2 separate regions of the Homo sapiens genome follow, and region 2 is linked to region 1. Evidence: promoter capture Hi-C in 16 types of primary human blood cells and fetal thymus (Javierre and others, 2016). All regions are on one chromosome and are shown on one strand. The core of a region is centred on a gene start or on the middle of the fragment in contact, and the rest is flanking DNA. Distances in the headings are between cores, read along the strand shown. Region 1 holds the start of HSPA13 (heat shock protein family A (Hsp70) member 13). Region 2 overlaps NRIP1 (nuclear receptor interacting protein 1).

Region 1 (7,640 bases), core at 2,235-4,734:
GAATCCCAAAAAAGAAGTCAAAAAACAACAAAGTAATAAACCTAAGAAATGCAGGGAGCAATTTTTTTTTCTTTGAAAACGGATGAAAAATTTGAACATTTTTATGGCTAGGTTTATTCAATAAGCAGCACTGATACAACTGTCTATTTTGAAACTAAATAATGGCCGGCATGGTGAAATCCCGTCTCTACTAAAAATACAAAAATTAGCCAGGCGTGGTGGCACACGCCTGTAATGCCAGCTTGGGAGGCTGAGGGAGGAGAATCACTTGAACCTGGGAGGCAGAGGTTGCAGTGAGCCAAGATCATGCCATTGCATTCCAGCCTGAGAGACAGAATGAGACTGTCTCAAAAAAAAAAACAAAAACTAATTCATTTAGAATTTCACTTCATTTAGAATTTCACTTCATAACTTCCAAGAAAAACTCCACATGGAAAAAAGCTTTAAATGTTTAAAAGAAAAAAAAAGCAGCGAAATCCAAACCAACAAATACATAAACGTATTAAGAGGGAAAAAAAAGTAGCAGTGGATAGGATGGGATAGGCTACAGTAAACATGATAAGAGTCTAAAATCAAAAATTTAAAACTTTGACATCCAGCTCAAAAACATCAGTGAAAAAAAAAAGGTAAGGAAAAGATAACAAAAACATATAATGAAGGTCTTTTATAGCTCACTAAGGAAAAGAAAAACACACCAAAACAAAAAAGGACAAAGAAAAATGGACCATAAAAGAAAATTAAAATATCAATAAAATTCTAAAAATTCTGATCTCACTAAAAAAAATCAAAATAAATAAAAATTAATACAGGATACTATTTTTCACTTATCTGACTGTTAAAGATTAAAAAAAATAACTAGCGAAGATACAGCCACTCTAAAAAATTATGGTTAAGAGCATATAACCTTTCTGGTGAGCAAACCAGAAAAATAAATCAAAAGCCTTAAAAACGTACACATTTGACCTATCAATTAGACTTCTAGCATTCAAGTTAGGAAACTTTCAGAGAAGTGTACAAAGATAAGTAAGGATATTACCGGAATCTCCAACATTAGTGAAAAACCACAAAAAAGTACACTGATAGAGACTAGTCTAATTAATAATGGAATAGTCATTCCACAAAATCATTAAAGATAATGACATGATCCTATTAATTATCCATGACATATTAAATAGCAAAAAATAGCACACCTGGTATGTTCTCTTTATATGTATATAAATATGTACACATACACACACAGAATATCTATCTATGGTACACAGGGCTTCATCAACCTTCCTGCTACCTTGAAAGAGCTAAGCAAGACATGCTGAGGATGGGACAGCAAGAAAATGGCAAGGCCTTAAGTACCTGTTAGCATTATGGAGTCAGTGATTAACTGATCCTATAGCTGCTGTGGAATTTCTGGTTATGTGAGATAACAGAACTTTCATGTATTAATAGATAAAACTAGACGAGATAGAATGTTTTGTGACATGAAGCCAAAGCATTAACTAAAAGAGTACACTAAAATTAATATAGATTTTAGATTAATCACTTACCTTAAATGGGTATCTGCCAATTTCAGCCTCCAACTCTTCTGCGGTAAAAATCTTGCCTATGAATCTTTTGGCATCATATATTGTGTTTTGAGGATTTGAATCTGCCAGCTCTACGCTTTCATATCCCACATATACATCATTGTCAGTAAAAGACACCATGCTGGGTATGCTGATATGCCCATTTTCATCTGGAATCACCTTTACTTTTCCTGTGCCAGGAAAAAACACCCCAACAGAACAATAGGTGGTGCCAAGATCAATACCAATCACTTTAGGAGTAGGCAATGGTAAATACTGTTGTGCCAAATAGCCGGCCAACAGGAGAGTCAAAACAGCCGATCCTGAAATAAAGGAAAATTAAAAGATGTATTTTATCAAACTAGTACAATGTACTAAATTACTGTAGCAAAGTCCCTTTAATATCACTCGTTGAAACAAGGCTAAAAAAGACAAATTTCAAAATTTTTTATAGGACTGCTGATAGCACTCCTCTCAGACAGCAAGTTTTTCAAAATGTAAACTGGTTATAATAAAATTTAAAATGAAGTAAACACAAACAACAAAAAACCCTATAACTGTATGTTTGTGTCATTCTCTAATAAATGTAATAAAATGTAAAAATATTTCAATAATATTTGTGCAGATGCTGACAAGAAACAACATTTATCTGGAGCAAAAGCCAGATATAATCTAATATTCTTGATCAATTGATATTTAGATTTTACAGCTTTATAAAAAGCTTCGATTATCTTTTTTTAAAAGCTCCATTATTAAAATTCTCACAAGAAAAACTTTATTATTTTATAAGTCTAAAATTCTCTCCTCGTATCTCACCTCCTTTTCCCTTTCAAAAGGATGAAATGAATAAATGGGATAAAATGATTTTGAAAGTTCCTTAGATATGAAACTGTCACTTCAAAACAGAACACAGTTAACTTTTTATGTATTTAAGTATGAACTAGGGACTTCCTTCTTGCAGTGGTAATATTTAGGGGAGAAGAAGCATAAAGGTGGGCAACCCTGACGGCAACATCTATGAAAGCTTCTTGAAGACAAGTTTCGTTCACTGTTGTATCCCCCAGACCAGGAATAGCAGATGCCCAACAAATACTAATTTAAAAAAAAAAGAAAAAAGAGTAGGAACAAATGCCACGCAGATTGTAAACATAAGCGAAGAAAGATGCCCCTTTAGTTTTTAATGAATCTCGTATTTGGTATCAGGAGGCTGTGTTATACACCTGTGTCCGCTCATATTACATATGACCCAAAACATGAATTTTCAGGGCTCTGTGTTACTAATTGTTAGCTCATCCTCATCAACACATAACTCAAAGAAATAAAACCAAGTGCGAATCCCACTTTCCACTTCCAGCTACAGGCAACATTTCAGAAGCATTTCATCACCTTGGAGACGCGGGGTGGGTGTGTGTGTGGGTGGGGGATAGGTAATTCCAAACCCGATGTGATGGAAAAAGCCTCCAAATTCAGCATCCCTGAGCCGACAGATCCGGATGTAGCTCCTCCCCCTTCCTCCACAAAGGGGTCCTGGAGGTGCACGTTCTCGCAGCCTTCCATAGCTTGCCCCAATTCAACAGGCAATTCAAAAACCTAGGTGCTGTTGAAAGGAACGCCTCCCTAAGCCTGATGTCCCTGGGATGGACACAGCTGGTCGCCGTCTATCCTACCTTGGCCTGCAGGGGCCGGGGCCCTCCTAGAGGCGTCCCCGCCCCCATCCACTCCGAACAGCCGAAAACCGTCTCTAAGTCACCTTTCTGACTCCCCTTCCGCTGCTCCAGCTAGATCCAGGAGGTGAGTCAACCACCCCTGCCCACTCTGGCATCCTCAGATCGCCTCTACGCCCGCAAGAGCAACAAGGACCCCCGGGAACCCACCTAAGATCGTCATCTCTCTGGCCATCACAGTCCCGCCGAACAGGCTTGTGATGACTGTACCAGACGTGAGGCACCGCCCCCACTCCTCCCGGCAGTCCCGCAGCCCCCTGGGAAATGTAGTCCGCTTGCTCTGAGGCAATCGGAGAAGCTATCGCTCTGACCAAAGCAAGGACTTCATCTACCGTGAGGGCGCGGGGCAAAGAGCCTCCATTCAACCGCTGCCAGTGACGACTGAGTCCCCCTTCCACGCAACGGCCGGCAGGACCAGTGAGACTGAGGGGGAGGAGCGCCGTGGCGAGAGACTGGCGTTTATAATCAAACCTGTGGTCCCGCGATCCTACTTGAGGGAAAACAGGCTATCTCTTTAGCCCCGCCCCGCGCTTTGCATTCTGGGAAGCGGAGTTCCAGCCTTTCTCTTTCCGCGGGAGGGAATGAAAGGGAGGGTGAGAACCGTTAGTTATTTCTTTCTTTGGTCGTGCCCCTAATCAGGTCCAGGATTCGAGTTTGTGTTCTTTCGTTTTAATTCCTTTTAAAGCGCGTTCGTTTGCCTGAGATCTAGCTTCTAGATGGCGTTCCTATAGCCTCCCGGAGCCCCAGCCATCCTCCGTAGAAGGGTCCCTGCCGCAGTGCGGGGCCTGAGGGAAGTCGGCTCTGGCGTCCGTGCTCCAACGCTGGGAGCAGCCCTGAAACTCCAGTGACCCTCAGCCGTCTGCCTTTGTTTTGGGATAAATGAATTCAAGCATTCTTCAGTCAATTCGATTTATCCAAGGGATCAGGGACACATTTTCTCTATTGCTAGCACTGACGTGGGCCATTAAAAACAAAAACAAAAACGAAATTAAAAAGAAAACCCTTAGCTCTCTCTTCAAGTAAGTCTTAAGTGGCCAAAATTGACCTTATGGGCAAGTCCTGTAACGTGACAGCCATTTTAGGACGCTTGTGACATGCTGTTCAGGTTCTAGTCTGAAGTAGGATTTTTCTCGCATCTTGGTCACTGGTAGCACTTAATGACTCCTCTGAGAGTGGTTTTGTCATTTTTGCTGTTAGAGTTCACGATAACTAAGATCCTGGAGAATTGAATCCATTTTCTCAGCTTAGATATAAATCAAACCATCCCTGTTGACAACACGTCAGCCTGCTGTGGGAATACATTGCTGGTTATTTCTGACTTATCAATGTGAATTTTGATTATGGAAGCTGAATTCTGGTTGATAGGGATCCATTGTAATGTTCTCTCTACTTTTGCGCATTTTTAAGTATTTCATAATGCGAAATATAAAAAGTGTGTGTCTATAGTGAGTGCTGTTCAATAAGATTCTTATAAGGAGTGAAGAATTCAAGCACTTAGTTCTTAAGTATTACTTGTAATGGGCAGTGGGCTGGAGGTGTTCCAGGCAGACGGAACTCAATTACCAAGAGCACAGAAGCAAGAGATCATCTATTCCATAGATTAGAAAGTGGTGGATCATAAAGCATGAGGTAGAATTCTGAGAGACAGAACTAGAGACTTAAACCAGATTAAGATTAGCCGTCTGTGACAAGCACTGGTCATTGGGATTCTCCCTGCCACTCACTCCTTTCTCCTTGCTAACAAGATCCTGATTTGTTCAAGAAGCAGGTAAAGATTATGTGATCTCAGAGTAGAAGGCCTTTAGAATTAAGATTGAACTAAATAGGTTGTATTCATTTTCTATTTCTGCCTTAACAAATTACCACAAATTTAGTGTCTTAAACCAACTCAAATCTATTATTTTTACAGTTCGGTATATCAGAAATTTGGTATGGGTCTCACTTAACTAAAAGCAAGTTATTAGCAAAGCTGCATTCCTTTCTGGATGTTCTAGGGGAGAATCAGTTTCCTGCTAATTTGAGTTATTGGCAGAATTCATTTTCTTGCAGTTGTAGGGTTCAGGTCTTCATTTTCTTGCTGGCTGTAACCTGAGAGCTGTTTCCAGTTTCTGAGGCCATACACATATCTTAGCTCAGAGACCCTCTTTCTCCATCTTCAAAGCCAGCAACAGCGGGTCAGGTCCTTTACAGAGGACATTTTTTTGCATCGCTCTTCCAAATTTTAGATGTCATGTGTTTACATTGGACCTATCTGGACAACTCAACGTAATCTCCATTTCAAACCCTGTAAACTTATCATATCTGCAAAGTCCGTTTTGCCATGTAAGGTAACTATTCACGAGTTCTAACAGTTTGAGGAGGCCTTTATTATGCCTACTAAAATGGTTCTGTGGCCCCTCAGATTCACATCTGTCCACATACAAAATGCAACATCCACCAAAGTCCCATCCCATTATAGCATGAACTCAAAGTCCAGAAAGTTCATCTATACTTCATCAGTTCAAAAGTCTCGCATCTCATTATCTAAATCAACTAAATGGGGTAGTAACTGATACCACTTATCCCTTCTTGTTTGTTTACAATCAGAGGAACAATGAAATACTTAGATAAGAATGCTGGTGAGACTATTCCAGTAATGTTATAAAGAACAGAAAAGTCAAGGCACTGGGGTTGGGAAGTAATCATTGTTATCATTCTCCAATAGTGACCAATTAATTCGTTGTTTTTATAGTTATTGTTTGGTGTTTTATGTTACAATCCATTGCAATTATTATCCTTCTTGATACTTAGATTGCTTTAATTTTGGCCGATGGCAGCCTCTTCAAAATTCACTCATGAATGCTTTTGACACAATCGCTTTACTTACTGCCTTGCTACCTGCTCTAAAAAGATATCTAGAATCCTCTTATTTTTTTTTGTTTGTTTTGTTTTGTTTCATACTTATAATTAACTGTATGTCTAAGGAACCCTGCTTTCTTTTATTAAGAAAGTGTGGTATCTGGAGACCATAATTTGTATGCCAGGGGGTTATTATTTTAAGGGTGCCAGTTCTTTTTATATCTTTGAATTCAGTGAAATATCAAATAAAAAGCCAGCAGGATATTTTATGACTTGATAAAATGACAATAAAATTTATTTGGAATATTTAAGATAAGAATTTAATGGGTATATAGTCCTTGCGCATGTTAAGTGACAAAACTACAAACTTAATACTACAGAGGAAACAGAAAATGGACTTTAGGCTCAGCAGCAGCACATGCTTGTAGCCCCAGCTACTCGGGAGACTGAGGTGGAAGGAACACCTGAGCCCAGGATTTTGAATCCAGCCTAGGCAGCATAGCAAGAACCCTATTGCAAAAAACTAAATAAAAGAAATAAAAATAAAACAGACCTAAGAAGAAAGTGGCAATCTCTTCAAAATAAATGAAAGCTATATTATTCAACAAATGTAACAGGGCAGTTGGCTATTTATAACTTTGAATGTAAAAAGGGATATTATACCTTAACATCAAAATAAATATAAATAGATAAAATGTTTAATTAAATAACTACAAGTAGTTTTATTCATTAACTTAGGGGTAGGAGAAGTCTTTGAAATTAAGACTTAAAACCTAGAAACAAATAAGGCAAAACTAAACTTAACAGATAAATTTGATTATGTAGAATTTAAGATTATCTAGCAGGCAGAATTACCTATTTGAATTTATATGAAGTCAAAAGACAAATGACAAACTGAAGAAATACTAAACATACATCATGATCTATAATAGATTTAATTCCTTTATGGAGAATTCCTTCAGAGTATAAAGGTGTACAACTCAATTGAAAAATAAGAAAGGACATAGACAATAGAAAATAAAAATAACCAACAAACATGAAAATATATTCTACCTTAGTCACACTTAAATAAACATAAATCAGAATAATAACATGTCATTTCTACCTATCTGTAATCAGTTGAATTGTGGCCCCCTCCAAAAAAGGTATGCTGGAGTGCTAAACCCCTGTACCTCAGAATGTGACTTTATTTGGAAATAAAGTTGTTGGACATATAATCAGATAATATGAGGTCACACAGAAATAGGGTGGTCTGTTAATCCAGTATTACTGGTATCCTTATAAGAAAAGGGCCATATAAAGGCACGGAAACACAAGGAGAATGCTATGGGATGACCAAGGCAGTGATTAGAGTTATGTAGCTACAAGCCAATGAACGTCAAAGATTGTCAACAAACCAGCAGAGCTACGAAGAGTCAATAAAGGATTCCCCTGCATGTTTTAGAGGGGACATGCCCAACTCATATTTTGATTTTGGACTTCTAATCTCCAAAACTATGAGACAATAACATTTTGTTGT
Region 2 (7,640 bases), core at 3,693-6,192, 660 kb after region 1:
TTAGGGGGAAAAAACAAATAACATACACAACATGGATGACTCTTACAGACATAATGTTGATAAAAAAAGACACTGATGAGTTCATACGACATGGTTCCAACTTTATATAGTTTAAAACAGGCAAAACTAATCTATAGTAAAAGACGCCAAAGACTATTCCTGTTAGGTAGAGGCAGGATCGATTAGAAAATACACAAATTACAATAAGCCTTCTGGAGTAGGGTGCTAGTTACTCAGACTATACTTACATAAACAACAATCAAGCTAGCAAATAAGGGTGTCTATTTGATTACATGAAGTTACACTTCAGGAGGTTTTGTATAAAAATAAGAAACTTCTTCTTAAAAGGACCTTATGCATTATGATTTCTTTTCAAAATAATTACTTAAAACTAATTCCTATCTTGAATATACATGGGAATTTGTCGATTTAATCCTTCAGCTAAACTTTCAATTTCTTTGCAGTTTCTTTTTAATAAGAATAACTATCAACTCTATTGAAACATACCTTTAATTTTGAGATATGATAACCTTTCATGAATTGATAATTCATATTAGCATTAAAATTATAACTTCCATCTTTATAGCTAAGTGTGAATGTTTATACGAAATATTTATAATAGTTCATTCTCATCTTTAATTTGAAAAGATAACTCTGAATTCCATAAAATCCAGTTTCTGATCATATAATTTATTTTACTGATAAAGTATATTTTAAATTTAATTTTTTGGGTTCATTTACAAGTTCTTTCACAGACCTAATTTGCTTATTTACATTTCTTATTTGCTTTTGCCTTTCCCCCGTAACCGACAAAAAGAGGAAGAATATGCTGGTTTGCCAATAAATAATAATCTTAAACACAGAGTTTCCATTTTAAAAGTTCAATGCAGCATGCTGGGGAGACTTATTAAAAGACTGTATTCAACCAACCCTAGAAATTCACACTGCTTGACAGTGATTAAGAAAATCGGTAAAAACCAATTTTTGTATTATTTCATATGAATAAAAATCATGAATATTCAGCTAATAAAGTTACATCTGTATTATAGTAAAAGAAGGTGGCCAATTCACTATAATCTTAACAAATACATTATTTTATTGCATGTATTTATGCATCCTTCCTTCATCTGTTTCTATCCCAAGCAAGACAGCTGGCAAAAGTTTTTGAGAAGGAAAACACAAGATACAGAGGAGGTATAAGGTCGAATATTAAGAAGGATGCCTTGGATATAGATCAAGAAGACTATGTTCACCACTGACATTAGTCAAATTGGCTGGCATATCCATATGTGATCTATGAGGTATGCTATGGCCTGAATGTTGTGTCTCCCCAAAATTCATAAATTGAAACCATATTTGCAATGTGAGGGTAATTTGGAGGTGGGGCCTTTGGTGAGTGATTAGATCATGAGGGCAATGCCCTCATGAACAGGATTAGTACCCTTATAAAAGAGGTCCCAATAATTCTCTGGCCACCTCCACCCATGTGAGGTTACAGTGAGAAGTCAGCCATCTATGAGGAACAGGCCCTTACTAAACATTAAATCTGCTGGCACCTTGGTCTTGGACTTCCCAGCCTCCAGAACTGTGAGAAATAAACCTCTATGGTGTATAAGCCTCCCATCTATGGTATTTGTTACAGCAGCTCAAATGGACTAAGATAAGGTACAAAAGACAAAGCACAAAGTGAGTAAGTTTCTCAACAGATGATTTTAACATAACCTTCCTTCCTAGTAATATGTCACATGTCCTGACACTCTGGGCCTACAAGCAGATAAATTATTATGCTATACCAATCTATCCACAAATGATAATGCAAAGAGAGAATTTCGCAAATGGATGTTCGGAGGCAAAACCAGGTGGCCTGGCTGAGTCTGTCCACGGACTCTGATGACAGACTGATCCAAATGCAGATGGCAGCTGATCCCTACACTAGAAGGTAGAGCTGTCACAGGCAGGAAGACTTTTAAGACTGCCTGAATGTTTCAGGTATACTTCACACTGTCTTAGATAAAAAGGAACTTTATGTATCTCATTTTCAAATCAAGACATTCTTTAAAATAGTTCTATAGTAGTAAAGTAAAATGTAAATACCTCAGTGTTTAAAATAGGTAAAACTGGTTTACTCTAAACCAGACGTTTTATTCGCTTACACAAAATTTTGATTTACCAAAATTGAAATATAACCTTCTTTGTGACAAATGGCAAGGTAGTTTATCCATATCTAAAAGTTAAAGAAAAATAACAAAATGTGGCATAACAGTCTTACTTTTCTACAATTGGAAAGGCTTGATAACATTTTTAAAAGTGGGGCAATGAGACAAAAGACAATACCTTCTGGCTGTGTTTCTCCCAAATGTTAAAATAATGAGTCCTGAGAACAGTTCTGAAATAGCTCACAATCCAAACACTTCCTGAAAATTAAGAGAAATAAGTGTTACTTCAAGTGCACCTTATCTCAAAGATTTGTTTTACAATGGAATTTTAACTACTAACTAAATCATCTCAAAAAACAACAAAAAAGATGTATTACAAGGTAAAAAAAAGTATTCATATTCTTCATGATACATGCTTTCTTTGGACATAGTTGTTGACCACATGTAACAAAACAGCTTTCATTACAGAATTATTTGCCAAAATACACTACCCAATTGTTTTTTTGTTTGTTTGTTTTTTGAGGTGGAGTCTCCCTCTGTCACCCAGGCTGGAGTGCAGTGGCGTGATCTCGGCTCACTGCAACCTCCGCCTTCCAGGTCCAAGCGATTCTCCCACCTCAGTCTCCCAAGTAGCTGGGATTACAGGTGCCCAGCACCACGCCCGGCTAGTTTTTGTATTTTTAGTAGAGACGAGTTTTCGCCATGTTGGCCAGGCCGATCTCAAACTCCTGACCTCAGGTGATCCACCTGCCTCGGCCTCCCAAAGTGCTGGGATTACAGGCGTGAGCCAGCACACCCGGCCCACTACTCATCTGTTTTTATTTTACTATAAAGATTGTCCCTATTGTCAATGATGTAAAAAGTTAATGTCAAAGATAAAGAGGAATTTCAGTCAAGGATTCTGGGAGAAAAAGTATTAGAATTATTTAACAGTCATTGCAGAGTTTGAAACACCTCATTTCTTTTCTGTACCACTAGGAACAGAAAATGTTAAACTCAGAATTAGAACCATACTAGATATAGAATGACACTGACGTGGAAAAGTTCATACTTTCAGGAACAAAAGAGTGGATCAAAGTTTTTGGCCAGCAAGAGATGTAGCAAACAATTTAACATTGTGGTGGCTGAGGAAACTTTATTTTGGTCAACAGGCCAATGGACAGTGAAGCTAGCGGTGATAAGGGAGGTACCATGCGAACTCCCTGATACCACCATAGCAGCATTCCATTTCTATCAGCCACGCCACTTAGATCTGACTTATACTTCTAGAACTCTCAATTCCTAGCCTATAACCTATGATCAGTTCTCACAGATTATAGCTTTGAATAAAAATACATCTGTAAACCTGAATTCTAACCTCCCAAAATAAAGTAGCTATTTTTCATTTTCATTTCATTTTACTGGGGGCCCTTCAGTCTCCTTAAAACCACTTAAAGATAACAAATTGCTTAAAGTAATACTTCCCCAAAATCCAGCTCTTCACCACTATACCTGTAGGTCACTTAGTCTGTATCTTGCTTATTGTTATTCTCCCTGTGTCTGTGAGCCTTCAATACCCAGCATGGTGCAAGGTATACAGCTGGTACTCAGTAAATGTCTGATAAATGACATCAATTAATCACAGAGCCTTAATCAATTAATATGCCAGGCTTAAGTAAAAATATAAAAGAGAAGACGGTAGTTTTATATGGACCAACTACAATGAAAAATATATGCCTTTAATTACTACACACACATGCACATTCTCTCTCTCATCCACTCATTCACTGTCAGTTCTTCATCAGTAAGACTCCTCCAGTATCTTATTTCAATGCTCTCCTAATCCCCCCGGCCCAGACAATCAGCCTGGTTGGGTGGTAGGTGTCCATTCTACCCAGATGAGTTGGGACTCTAGTGTCGCTGTCTGACGTCCTATACCAACCAGCATGGTACTCAGGCATTATTAATACAAGTCTCTAAGCACATAAAGGCATACCTCAGAGATATAGTGGGTTCCATTCCAGATCACTAAAATAAAGCAAATATCACAATAAAGCAAGTCACACAAGTTTTTTGGTTTCCTAGTGCACATAAAAGTTATGTTTACACTGTACTATAGTCTATTAAGTGTGCAAAAGCTTTATGTCGAAACAATGTACATACCTTAGTATAAAAATACTTTATTGCTAAAAATGCTAACAATCATGTGAATCTTTAGAGAGTTTTACTCTTCAGTGGTGGGCACCTTGCCTCCATATTGATGGCTGCCAAATGATCAGGCTTGTGGTTGCTGAAGGTTGGGGTCTCTGTAATGATTTCTTAAAACAAGACAACAATGAAGTTTGCCACATCGGCTGATTCTTCCTTTCACAGAATAATTCTCTGTAGCATGTAATGCTGTTTGATAGCATTTTACCCACAGTAGAATATCTTTCTAGATGGGAGTCAATCCTCTCAAACCCTGCCACTGTTTTATCAATTATGTTTACATGATATTCTAAATCCTTCGTTGTTATTTCAACAATGTTCACAGTATCTTCAATCAGGAGTAGATTCCATCTCTAGTAACTACTTTCTTTGCTCATCTATAAGGAGTAACTCCTCATCCGTCCATGTTTTCTCATGAGATTATACAAATTCAGTCACATCTTCAGGCTCCACTTCTAATTCTAGTTTTCTTGCAATTTCCACCACATCTGCAGTTACTTCCTCCACTGATGTCTTCAACCCGCCAAAGTTATCCATAAGGGGTGGAAGCAGCTTCTTTCAAACTCCTATTAATGTTAGTATTTTGACCTCCTCCCATTAATCACAAATGTTCTCAATGGCATCTAGAATGGTGAATCCTTTTCAGAAGGTTTACAATTGCCTTTGCCCAGATCCATCAGAGGAATCACTATCTATGGCAACTACAGCTTCACAAGATGTATTTCTTCAATAGTAAGACTTGAAAGTTGAAATTACTCCTTGATCCACAGGCTACAGAATAGATGTTGTATTAGCAGCCATGAAAATTAACATTAACTTCCTTGTACATCTCCATCAGAGCTCTTGAGTGACCAGGTGCGTGGTCAATAAACAGTAATATTTCGATAGGAATCTTTTTTTTCTGAGCAGTTGGTCTCAAGAGGGGGCCTAAAATATTCAGCAAACCATGCTGTAAACAGATGTTCTGTCATCCAGGCTTCTTCTTCCATTTATACAGCATAGGTAGAAGAGATTTAGTATAATTCTTAAGGGGCTTAGGATTTTTGGAATGGCCAAACATTGGTTTCCACTTCAAGTCACCAGCTGTATTATCCACTAACAAGAAAGTCAGTTTGTCCTTTGAGGTTCTGAGGCCAGGCATTGGTTTCTCCTCTCTAGCTATTAAAGTCCTAGATGGCATATTCATCCAACAGAAGGCTGTTTCATTTACACTGAAAATCTGCTGTTTAATGTAGCCATCTTCATCAATGATCTTACCTAGATCTTCTGGAAGCTTGCTGTAGCTTCTACATCAGCATTACCTGCTTCATCGTGCACTTTTATGTTATCCAGGCAGCTTCTATCCTTAAACTTCATGAACAAACCTCTGCTAGCTTCCAACTTTTCTTCTGCAGTTTCTTCATCTCCTCTCGGCCTTTGTGGAATTAGAGTGAGGCGCTGCTCTGGATTAGGTTTTGGCTTAAGGGAATGTTATGGCTGCTTTGATTTTCTAGGCAGACTACTAAAATATTCTCCATATTAGCAATAAGGCTGTCTATTAGTCCGTTCTCACACAGCTATGAAAAAATGCCCGAGACTGGGTAATTTATAAAGGAAAGAGGTTTCATTGACTCAGAGTTCCGCATTGTTGGGGAGGTCTCAGGAAACTTAAAATCATGGCAGAAGGTGAGGGGAAAGCAAGGCACCTTCTTCACAAGGCAGCAGGAAGAAGTGCCAAGCAAAGTGGGAAAAGCCTCTTATAAAACCATCAGATCTCGGCCGGGCGCGGTGGCTCACGCCTGTAATTCCAGCACTTTGGGAGGCCGAGGCAGGCAGATCACGAGGTCAGGAGACAGAGACCATCCTGGCTAACATGGTGAAACCCCATCTCTACTAAAAATCAAAAAATTAGCCAGGCGTGGTGGCGGGCGCCTGTGGTCCCAGCTACTTGGGAGGCTGAGGCGGGAGAATGGCGTGAACCCAGGAGGCGGAGCTTGCAGTGAGCTGAGACCGCGCCACTGCACTCCAGCCTGGGCGGCAGAGCGAGACTTCTTCTCAGAAATAAATAAATCATTAAAATTAAATTAAAAAACCATCAGATCTCATGAGAACTCACTATCACGAGAACAGCATGGGGGTAACTGCCTCCATGATTCAATTACCTCCCACTGGGTCCCTCCCAGGACACATGGGGAGTATAGGAACTACAATTCAAGATGAGATTTGGGTGGAGACACAGCCAAACCATATCAGGCTGCTTTGTGTTCTTATCATTCATGTGTTCACTGGAGTAGCACTTTTAATGTCCTTTAAGAACTTTTCCTTTTACATTCACAACTTGGTGAACTGGCACAAGAGGCCTAGCTTTCAGAAGAGCTTGGCTTTTGACATGCCTTCCTCACTGAGCTTAACCTTTTCTAGCTCTTGATTTAAAGTAAGAGACCTACAACTTTTCCTTGCATTTAAATACTTAGCCATTATAGGGTTATTAATTGGCCTAATTTCAATATTGTTGTGTCTCAAGGAACAGGGAATCCCAAGGAAAGGGAGATGAGATGGGGGAACAGCCAGTCTGTAAAGCAGTCAGACCACACTGAACAAGTTCGCCGGCTGATATGGGCACAGTTCATGGTACCTCAAAACAATCACAATAGTAACATCAAAGATCACTGATTACAGATCACCATGACACATATAATAATATGAAAAAGTTTTATATATTGTGAGAATTATCAAAACATGACCACAAAGACACAAACTGAAAACATGCTGTTGAAAAAATGGTACTTGCTCAATGCAGGGCTGCCACAAACCTTCAGTTTGTAAAAAACAAAATTATCTTCAAAGAGCAGTAAAGTGAAGCACAATAAAATGAAGTATGCCTACACATCAGCAACACCAAAGCTACCCTACATCATTAACAGGGTATGTCACCTAAGTGTATAAGTCAAAGATATCTAGAATCTTAACTACAGGCAGGATGTTCCCAAAATCTTAGTCGACAGAAGGCATCTCCTCAAAATAGAGTTTATAATCAGACAAAAACAAACAGAACCTGAAGAGACCTCCAGGTGATAAAGGAAAAACAAAAAGCATTATCATTTCCTATTAGGACATTACTTTTTTAGGAGCTAAATAAAAACATTACCAAATCATTTTATGTAATAAAATTTAACCTTATTTTGACCTTTCTCATAAAGCAAATAAACCTCTCTATCCAATAAGGTTCCATCTGAACTATGTAAGATGATAGGCAATACCTTAATTGCATTCATTTACATGACTCTGAAACTATTCTGGGCTGAAGTCACTGACCGC

The links. The method cuts DNA at HindIII sites, captures the fragments that hold promoters and counts their contacts. A CHiCAGO score of 5 or more calls a contact.
Region 2: a fragment that was not itself captured here is called in contact with the fragment with the promoter of HSPA13 in region 1 in 1 of 17 cell types (erythroblasts); the score reaches 6.2 in erythroblasts.

Annotation. Positions count from the first base shown.
Region 1 is chr21:14,379,662-14,387,301 of GRCh38, forward strand. It overlaps HSPA13 (heat shock protein family A (Hsp70) member 13), which reads right to left and starts at 3,485. Exons shown (of 5, transcript NM_006948.5): 1 at 3,434-3,485; 2 at 1,542-1,882. The coding sequence starts at 3,458. LOC105369304 (a long non-coding RNA gene) reads left to right here and starts at 3,105. Exons shown (of 2, transcript XR_007067924.1): 1 at 3,105-7,640. RefSeq lists enhancers at 3,192-3,501, 3,892-4,021. The HindIII fragment of the contact is 7,322 bases long and covers 2,582-7,640 here.
Region 2 is chr21:15,041,161-15,048,800 of GRCh38, forward strand. NRIP1 (nuclear receptor interacting protein 1) reads right to left here. Exons shown (of 4, transcript NM_003489.4): 2 at 2,335-2,414. Among named protein-coding and RNA genes, the nearest start is that of NRIP1, 20 kb to the right of the region's middle. The HindIII fragment of the contact is 1,343 bases long and covers 4,272-5,614 here.